2 separate regions of the Homo sapiens genome follow, and region 1 is linked to region 2. Evidence: promoter capture Hi-C in 16 types of primary human blood cells and fetal thymus (Javierre and others, 2016). All regions are on one chromosome and are shown on one strand. The core of a region is centred on a gene start or on the middle of the fragment in contact, and the rest is flanking DNA. Distances in the headings are between cores, read along the strand shown.

The links. Contacts are between HindIII fragments. The CHiCAGO score rates a contact against its expected background, and 5 or more counts as called.
Region 1: a fragment that was not itself captured here is called in contact with the fragment with the promoter of CAV1 in region 2 in 1 of 17 cell types (endothelial precursors); the score reaches 7.8 in endothelial precursors.

What each region holds. Positions count from the first base shown.
Region 1 is chr7:116,406,348-116,410,406 of GRCh38, reverse strand. No RefSeq gene overlaps it. Among named protein-coding and RNA genes, the nearest start is that of CAV2-DT, 91 kb to the left of the region's middle. The HindIII fragment of the contact is 477 bases long and covers 2,058-2,534 here.
Region 2 is chr7:116,523,196-116,527,528 of GRCh38, reverse strand. CAV1 (caveolin 1) reads right to left here and starts at 2,493. Exons shown (of 3, transcript NM_001753.5): 1 at 2,437-2,493; 2 at 840-1,004. The coding sequence starts at 2,466. RefSeq lists silencers at 792-891, 1,122-1,511, 3,920-4,214 and an enhancer at 4,140-4,333. The HindIII fragment of the contact is 5,040 bases long and covers 1-3,376 here.

The DNA of each region.
Region 1 (4,059 bases), core at 1,047-3,546, 120 kb after region 2:
TGGAGTTGCTCTTCTCGAGGAGTATCTTTGTGGCGTTCTCTGTATTTCCTGAATCTGAATGTTGGCCTGCCTTGCTAGACTGGGGAAGTTCTCCTGGATAATATCCTGCAGAGTGTTTTCCAACTTGGTTCCATTCTCCCCATCACTTTCAGGTACACCAATCAGATGTAGATTTGGTCTTTTCACATAGTCCCATATTTCTTGGAGGCTTTGCTCATTTCTTTTTATTCTTTTTTCTCTAAACTTCCCTTCTCGCTTCATTTCATTCACTTCATCTTACATCACTGATGCCCTTTCTTCCAGTTGATCGCATTGGCTCCTGAGGCTTCTGCATTCTTCACGTAGTTCTGGAGCCTTGGTTTTCAGCTCCATCAGCTCCTTTAAGCACTTCTGTGTATTGGCTATTCTAGTTATATATTCTTCTGAACTTTTTTCAAAGTTTTCAACTTCTTTGCCTTTGGTTTGAATGTCCTCCCGTAGCTCAGAGTAATTTGATCGTCTGAAGCCTTCTTCTCTCAGCTCGTCAAAGTCATTCTCCATCCAGCTTTGTTCCATTGCTGGTGAGGAACTGCGTTCCTTTGGAGGGGGTGAGGCGCTCTGCTTTTTAGAGTTTCCAGTTTTTCTGCTCTGTTTTTCCCCATCTTTGTGGTTTTATCTACTTTTGGTCTTTGATGATGGTGATGTACAGATGGGTTTTTGGTGTGGATGTCCTTTCTGTTTGTTAGTTTTCCTTCTAACAGACAGGACCCTCAGTTGCAGGTCTGTTGGAGTACTGGGCTGTGTGAGGTGTCAGTCTGCCCCTGCTGGGGGGTGCCTCCCAGTTAGGCTGCTCATGGGTCAGGGGTCAGGGACCCACTTGAGGAGGCAGTCTGCCCGTTCTCAGATCTCCAGCTGCGTGCTGGGAGAACCACTGCTCTCTTCAAAGCTGTCAGACAGGGACATTTAAGTCTGCAGAGGTTACTGCTGTCTTTTTGTTTGTCTGTGCCCTGCCCCCAGAGGTGGAGCCTACAGAGGCAGGCAGGCCTCCTTGAGCTGTGGTGGGCTCCACCCAGTTCTAGCTTCCCGGCTGCTTTGTTTACCTAAGCAAGCCTGGGCAATGGCGGGCGCCCCTCCCCCAGCCTTGCTGCCTCCTTGCAGTTTGATCTCAGACTGCTGTGCTAGCAATCAGCGAGACTCCACGGGCGTAGGACCCTCCGAGCCATGTGCGGGATATAACCTCCTGGTGCGCCGTCTTTTAAGCTTGTCGGAAAAGTGCGGTATTCGGGTGGTAGTGACCCGATTTTCCAGGTGCCGTCTGTCACCCCTTTCTTTGACTAGGAAAGGGAACTCCCTGACCCCTTGTGCTTCCTGAGTGAGGCAATGCCTCGCCCTGCTTCGGCTGGCGCACGGTGCGCGCACCCACTGACCTGTGCCCACTGTCTGGCACTCCCTAGTGAGATGAACCCGGTACCTCAGATGGAAATGCAGAAATCACCCGTCTTCTGCGTCGCTCACGCTGGGAGCTGTAGAGCGGAGCTGTTTCTATTCGGCCATCTTGGCTCCTCCCTAGTGGACTGTCTTGCTTTGTCTGGTAGTTCTACAGAATTAAGCTTTATTATCCTAAAAAAGAAATTATCACATCTCCAGGAAAAGCTTCCTCTGGGGTATAAGCATTTTGCAAATCTAGGGAGTCCCTGTGTGAAGTATCACTTGCCTATTTATTGAGTGTTTCCCTAAATGACTAGTGTCATCTCCCAATGGTCATTAATATTCTTCTCCAAAGGTTCTATCTGTCAAAAATGGGGAAATGTGACCCAGTATAAATAGGATGAGGTATTTTCATTGGTACTTGTGGTCTACCCTGGCTTGCTGCTGCTCCCAAGGGGAGACAGAAGTTCTGTTCAACACAGTTGGAAAGTTTCTGGACTCCAAGTGTCAAACCAGGAGTGGAGACGCAGCAATTTTCAAAAGAAAACAAAACAAACAGTCGACACATCTATCTCCTTTTCTCTTCTAGTGCATATTCTATCACCTCCTCATTTAAATTGCACTCTCTCACTTTTGTTTGAACTAAAGCTTGTGTTCATCTTGAGCCAATAAAAACTACAAAAAGGAAACATCTGTATTGTTAAGTAACTAATGCTGCTATGATAACCCAGCAAAGTAACAATCTAATTAAAGATCATATGGCCAAGGTTTTAGCAGATAATCTTTTCAAGGCAGAATAAAATTTGTTACTATGTATAACTGTTACATTTACATACATGAAATTAGATTTGTATCTAATTTATTTTTGTATTACCTTATATTTTTTAATATTTTAAATATGTACTGTTAATATTCCATGACATTTGATCTTTGAAACAAATTGAAAGATGGGTATGTTACATAGACTTAAAGACATATAAATAATTAGTAAAATTGCTGACACAAGAGCCTAGCAAATTCCTTACAAAATTATCTATGTTAGAAAATATGGTTAAATTCTAATGAAGCGAGTTGTTTTGGAAATTTTCATTGACTTGCTGGTAGGGTTTTTAAATAATGCAGAAGCTTTCTGGAAGGCAATTTCAAAAACTTTAAGTGTTCATACCCTTTGACCAGAAATTCTACTTCCAAGAATATTTTCTAAGTAAATAATTAGGTATTTGCAGAAAGACTTAGCTACAAAGAGGACCTCTGAAGCATTGCTCATGTATTATTTAGAGTAAATAACAATAGTACTTGCCTTTATTAAAAAACCAGCATGGCACATGTATACATATGTAACTAACCTGCACAATGTGCACATGTACCCTAAAACTTAAAGTATAATAAAAAAAAAAGTAATCCAGAAATTTTATGACTCAACATTCAGAAATGTATATTTTTTGCTTACAGAAGTTCCACAATGGATGTTCCTGATGAGTGTGCATTCGTATAATTATTCAGAGACTCAAACTCCTACCATTTAATGTCTCCTCCATTTCTGGAGTCCCAGGAGTCCTCTTCAAGAGAGCCTCTGTCTTTGGCTGACCTTCATGAGAAAGTATATGGAGGTCACATGGGTGATATTTCATGCTGAGCCTGTAAGTTACACAGATCCCTCTGCTCACATTTCACGGGCCAGACAACGCATGGCCACTCCACAGTATGGGAAGCTGGGACCTGCACTCCAGTTCTGTGCTTAGACAATAGAAAAGGAAGATTTTGAACATTTAATAGTCTTTCTTCAACTTATAATTGGAAATACATTTTAAAATAGTCATATATTCATATAGTAGAATAAAAAACTTGATAGTAGTTATCAAACTTTTTTACCATTCAATACAATGAAAAGATGTTCTTGATGTATCGAGTGGAAAGTGTTTGTTACAAACAATGTTTTTGTCACAAGTTTTATGGTTATTCACACAGCCATGCTATCATCTCAGCAATGTCATACTTCCTGCTTTCCCAAGTTTTCCTTTTTTTTCTTTTTCTTCTATGTGCTTAGTAAAGAAAGCATGATGGCTGGGCACGGTGGCTGATGCCTGTAATCCCAGTACGTTGGCAGACCAAGAGGGGAGGATCACGAGGTCAGGAGATTGAGACCATCTTGGCTGCAGTGCAACTCTGTCTCTACTAAAAATACAAAAATTTAGCCAGGCATGGTGGCCAGGCGCCTGTAGTCCCAGCTACTCGGGAGGCTGAGGCAGGAGAATGGCATGAACCTGGGAGGCGGAGCTTGCAGTGAGCTGGGATGGCACCACTGCACTCCAGCCTGGGCGACAGAGTGAGACTCCATCTCAAAAAAAAAAAAAAAAAAAAAAAAGAGAAAGCATGATATGTAGAAAGATTTCACACTAGGGAACCTGATAGATGTAGGTTTGAATATGGATATTTGTCATTTATTAACTGAGTTAACTGAGCCCAATTAATCTAACTTATATGAGGTTTATTTCTTTTTATTTTTAAAAGATAAAAAAATCTACTTCATAAGGTCATATAACATACTTAACACATGTAATATGCTTAACAAAGTGTCTGGCATATATCATGTATATTATATATGTAACATATGTACATATGTAATATACTTGACAAAGTGTCTGGCATATG
Region 2 (4,333 bases), core at 1,244-3,743:
ACCACTGAGTCAGATCTAAGTCTGGCCAATAACCCAGTCCAATTATTTTTAATCTCACCAAGCACATCCTGAAAGTATGAAAAGGAACTCCAACCTGAATGTGCCATTAGCTCAGGGCAGGCTGACCCAGGTAGCTACTAAAGAAGCAGCTTTCCACATCTAAGTGCAGGTGTCCATAGATAGAAGAAACCAAGAGGCATACATTGTTTTTGGTTTTGTAAATTTGCTTAGTTGTGCACAAGTGACTTGTTAGTCTAGTTAAAGTAACTTTCATATGTATATGAATAAGTACGTATTTTCTTTGTCTTTAGTCCTAGGCATTTCCATCCACTGTAGTATTTTTAAGAAAATCACTTCCCATCGTTTTAGTTGGGGGAACATGCCCATCTTGTATTCTGACTCATCCTCAGCACAAGACCTGACACAATTATCTGACTGTCTTAATGCCACGTGCAGTGGGGACCTGTCACTAGACTTTCAACCTGGGAATGGATAGGAACCATCTCACCGTCCCAAGGAGTATGGGCCGTCTGTTGCTGAGGTCAATAGGCTCATTTGCTAGGATAAAAGTGTAGTTATAGGAACTTCTACAAAACTCACTTTAGCTGAATTTCAGCTGAACTAACTATTGGGGGGAGATGGGGGAAGGGAGATGTAACGTTTCTGCCGACTGCGGGAGCTCCCACACATCAAACCCACAAAACTCTGTGTGTGTGTGTGTGTGCGCGTGTAGGGGGCGGGGTGGGGTGTGCGTACACGGCAATGCTAAAGAAGGATGCACGGGCTAACTGCCAGAGGAGAGCTGTCCCAGCCCTTCCCTGTTGGTCGCCTTGGCTTACCTTGACCACGTCATCGTTGAGGTGTTTAGGGTCGCGGTTGACCAGGTCGATCTCCTTGGTGTGCGCGTCGTACACTTGCTTCTCGCTCAGCTCGTCTGCCATGGCCTTGTTGTTGGGCTTGTAGATGTTGCCCTGTTCCCGGATGGGAACGGTGTAGAGATGTCCCTGCAGAGGGCGGAGGGCGGACGGCCAGGACGGGGAGGGCGGCAACGGCGGTGGGAGGAAAAATGCAAAAAGAAAAACAAGCGATGAGAAGTCAGCCTGGCGGCGGGGGAAACCTCGAGCTCGAAATCGAACTAACCGCTCCGACAGCTACGGCTCCGTGCACAGAAACCGCCTGCGCGTAGCCAGCTTTTTAAGAGGATCTCGCAGAGGACACCACACCCCTCTGTACTCTGCAGGGCGCGCCTGCCTCCCCCGCCCGCCGCCAGGGGTCAGGGCAGGCCCCGCCGCGCGGTCCGAAGGCCCCCGCCCGCGCACGCCCCGGCTCAGCACGCAGGACCCGCAGGACCCGCAGGACCTCGGCGGCGAGGGGGCAGCCGCAGGCTTCTCCCGGACTCCCTAAGCCGAGTCGCTCTCGCCCTGAGCGCTTCACCTGTTTCGCGTTCCCGTCCCCGGTCCCTATTACCCCTGCCCCGGTAATCCCTTCCAGCTTTATCTAAGATCCAACAGCAGCCGCCCGACCCGTGGAATGTTCCCTTTATCGCTGCTTCTTGGCCGCATCCCCCTCGCACCTGCCCGCGCCCCCCACCCTGCCTCGGCCCTCTCTTGTCCCTCCACGGCTCTCCCTGCTCAATCCGCCGTGATGATCACAATCCCGAAAGTCCCCATTTTTGGCGGAGCCAGGCACCAGACCCCCTAAATGTCCTAGAACTCAGTCTCACCTGCGCAGCTCCCCCGACCCACCCTCAGGGCACTCCCAGGCTGCGGGCGGGTGGCTGAAGGGCAGCTACGTGTTGGAAGACGAGGTTTCCACACCCGGGCAGAGCTCCAGCGCGTGGAGGGCGTTGGAAGTGATGGTGGCAGTTTGGGGAGGGGAGGTCTACCTCTCTCGGAACACCCCTGCCAGACGCCAAGATGCAGAAGGAGTTCTTGAGATGGTTCAAGAACTTTGGAAAGTGCAAACACACCGCGCGCCGCCTGCGGGACCTGCCGGTCTGGGCGCCTGGCGGAGAGTCCCGGGGACTGTCCCCAGGACTCGGGTAAATAACACCTCCACCCTGCACTCCACCTCTTCGAACCCCCAGCAGGCAGGGCCGGACCGCGGGGGTCCCGCGACAAGGGAGCATCCTAGACCCATCCAGAAAACGCGTCCTGGGCCCAACAGACCCAATCTCAGGACCCCAATCCCCTTTTCCGTGTCCTCCTAGCTCAGGGGCTCCCTAGGCCCCCTCTCCATTAGGAAAACATAAAACATTCCTGGCTTCTCTTCACCTCCCCGCCCAGGCCCATTCCTCAGCGGTGCCAACGCCAGAGGAGTGCTCCGAAGTGGAGAGAGGGCTGGGGCCAGGGCAGCAGTCGGGATATTTGGAGAGGCAGATAGCAGAAGCGGACACTCCCCGCACGCCCGAGCCGGCGCCCCCCCACGGATGCCTACCTCCGAGTCTACGTATTTGCCCCCAGACATGCTGGCCCGTGGCTGGATGAAAACTGTGAGGAGGTTTCCCTGGGCTGTGCTTTAAGGGAACTGAGGAAGGAAGATCTTGTATTGTATGGGGGGAAAAAAAGGCGCTGGAGGGGGGCGGTGGCTGGGAGGGAGCCTCCTGGCCGCCCGCCAAAGGTTTGTTCTGCTCGCGGTTGGCCCGGACGTGTGCTGCGCCGGGTCTAGGCACATCCCCAAGGTTCTGGCAGCAGAGGGCGGGGAGCGCCCGCAGCGAGCAGAGAGCGAGTGAGAACGTTTCTCCCGCGCTGGGGTGCTTGGGCAGATTATTTTAAACCTGAGGCAACATTTTCCCTGCTCTGAACCACCGAGAGGCGTCCCGGGGAGAGCGAATGTTTTCGCAGTGCATCATCTCAGCAGGGGTGGAGGGAGCCGACGCGCCTGCAGAGATGCCCAGTATGGGCAACCAAGGCGGCAGAAACAATCCACAATCCTGCCCTGTCCTAAGCCGTCCCTTCCCACCTCCCCCACCCCCCGCCCATCGCCCAAGTTCCATCTCTGCCTTAAAACACATGTGTCTCCCTGTTTCACAGAGGGAGGGATGAAAGACGGCTAGGAACCTTTAGGTACATTTCACATCTAAACTTTGTGGATCCCTTATGGAAGGAATCTGTGTGGGTGCCTGTGGTGTACTTTTGGTGACACTCGTTTACATCTAGTCGGTGTGGATGGAAACTTAAGCAGGCATGCAGAATTTAACATTTCCCATCCGTTTCTGAAATGTCTCCCAAACGCTTCGAAATAAGAAATGAAGATCTTTAACTTTTCTATAATTTTATTACCGATATTTTCTGGAACAATGGAATTTTATGCCAACAGGTTATGCCATATTTGCAAAATACACAAAATGTTTATAATTGTAGAATTATTTAAAGCTTCAAGTTTATTACCAGAGAAGATTTTTTTTTAATGTGCTTGGCTGTGAGGAAAGATTTGACTTTTCTAATTGACTAGACTTAAAAAAAATGTGATAGCGATTAAAGTATTTTGTCTGTTCCTGAATCTGGGGCTTCTGTCTTTACTTTATTGTAAAGAAGCACAAAATGAATTAAATAGTAATCAGTCATTTTACTCTTGAGCTGTAATTAATCAGGAAACTCATTATCCAAAAATGAAAGGACATGTTACTTATGCTTCCATATGCAGTCAAAAGTCAAAGTATCACTTGAAATTATTTTAAAAAAAAAGCTGGAGTACACTTGAAGGGGCACAGGTTAAAATTAAAATGGAGAGGGGAATGTGGGTTGGGAGTAAGAGGGAGGAGAAAGGGAAATGGATGGAATGCTGAAAGAGTTGATTATTTAGTTAGAGAGAAGACACAAAAGTATAAAAGAACTATAAAGGACAGGCTATTGTTGGTAGCAAAAATTTTTGGAACAAAAGATCAGTTTTAACTAAGAATGGCAGGGAAAGTGTCACAATGTTACAAATGTTGGCATGCCTGTAATTATGTTGGCCATTCATGATTAGCAGACTAAAGATCTTTCAAAAGTTGGATTTTCCCAAATACCACATTAGTGGGAGCTAAATGATGAGAACTCATGGAAACAAATAGGGAAAAAACAGGCACTGGGGCCCACTTGAGGGGTGGAGCGTCGGGGAGGGAGAGGAGCAGAAAAATAACTATTGGGGAGTAGGCTTTGTAGCTGGGTGATGAAATAATCTGTACAACGAATCCCTGTGACACAAAATTTAACAAACCTGCACATGTACTCTTGAACCTAAAATAAAAGTTAAAAAATTTGGAATGCTTTAAAATAAGCTTATTTATGAGTAAACAAATAATTAGGGTCTTCCTTCCTTCCTTCCTTCCTTCCTTCCTTCCTTTCTTTTC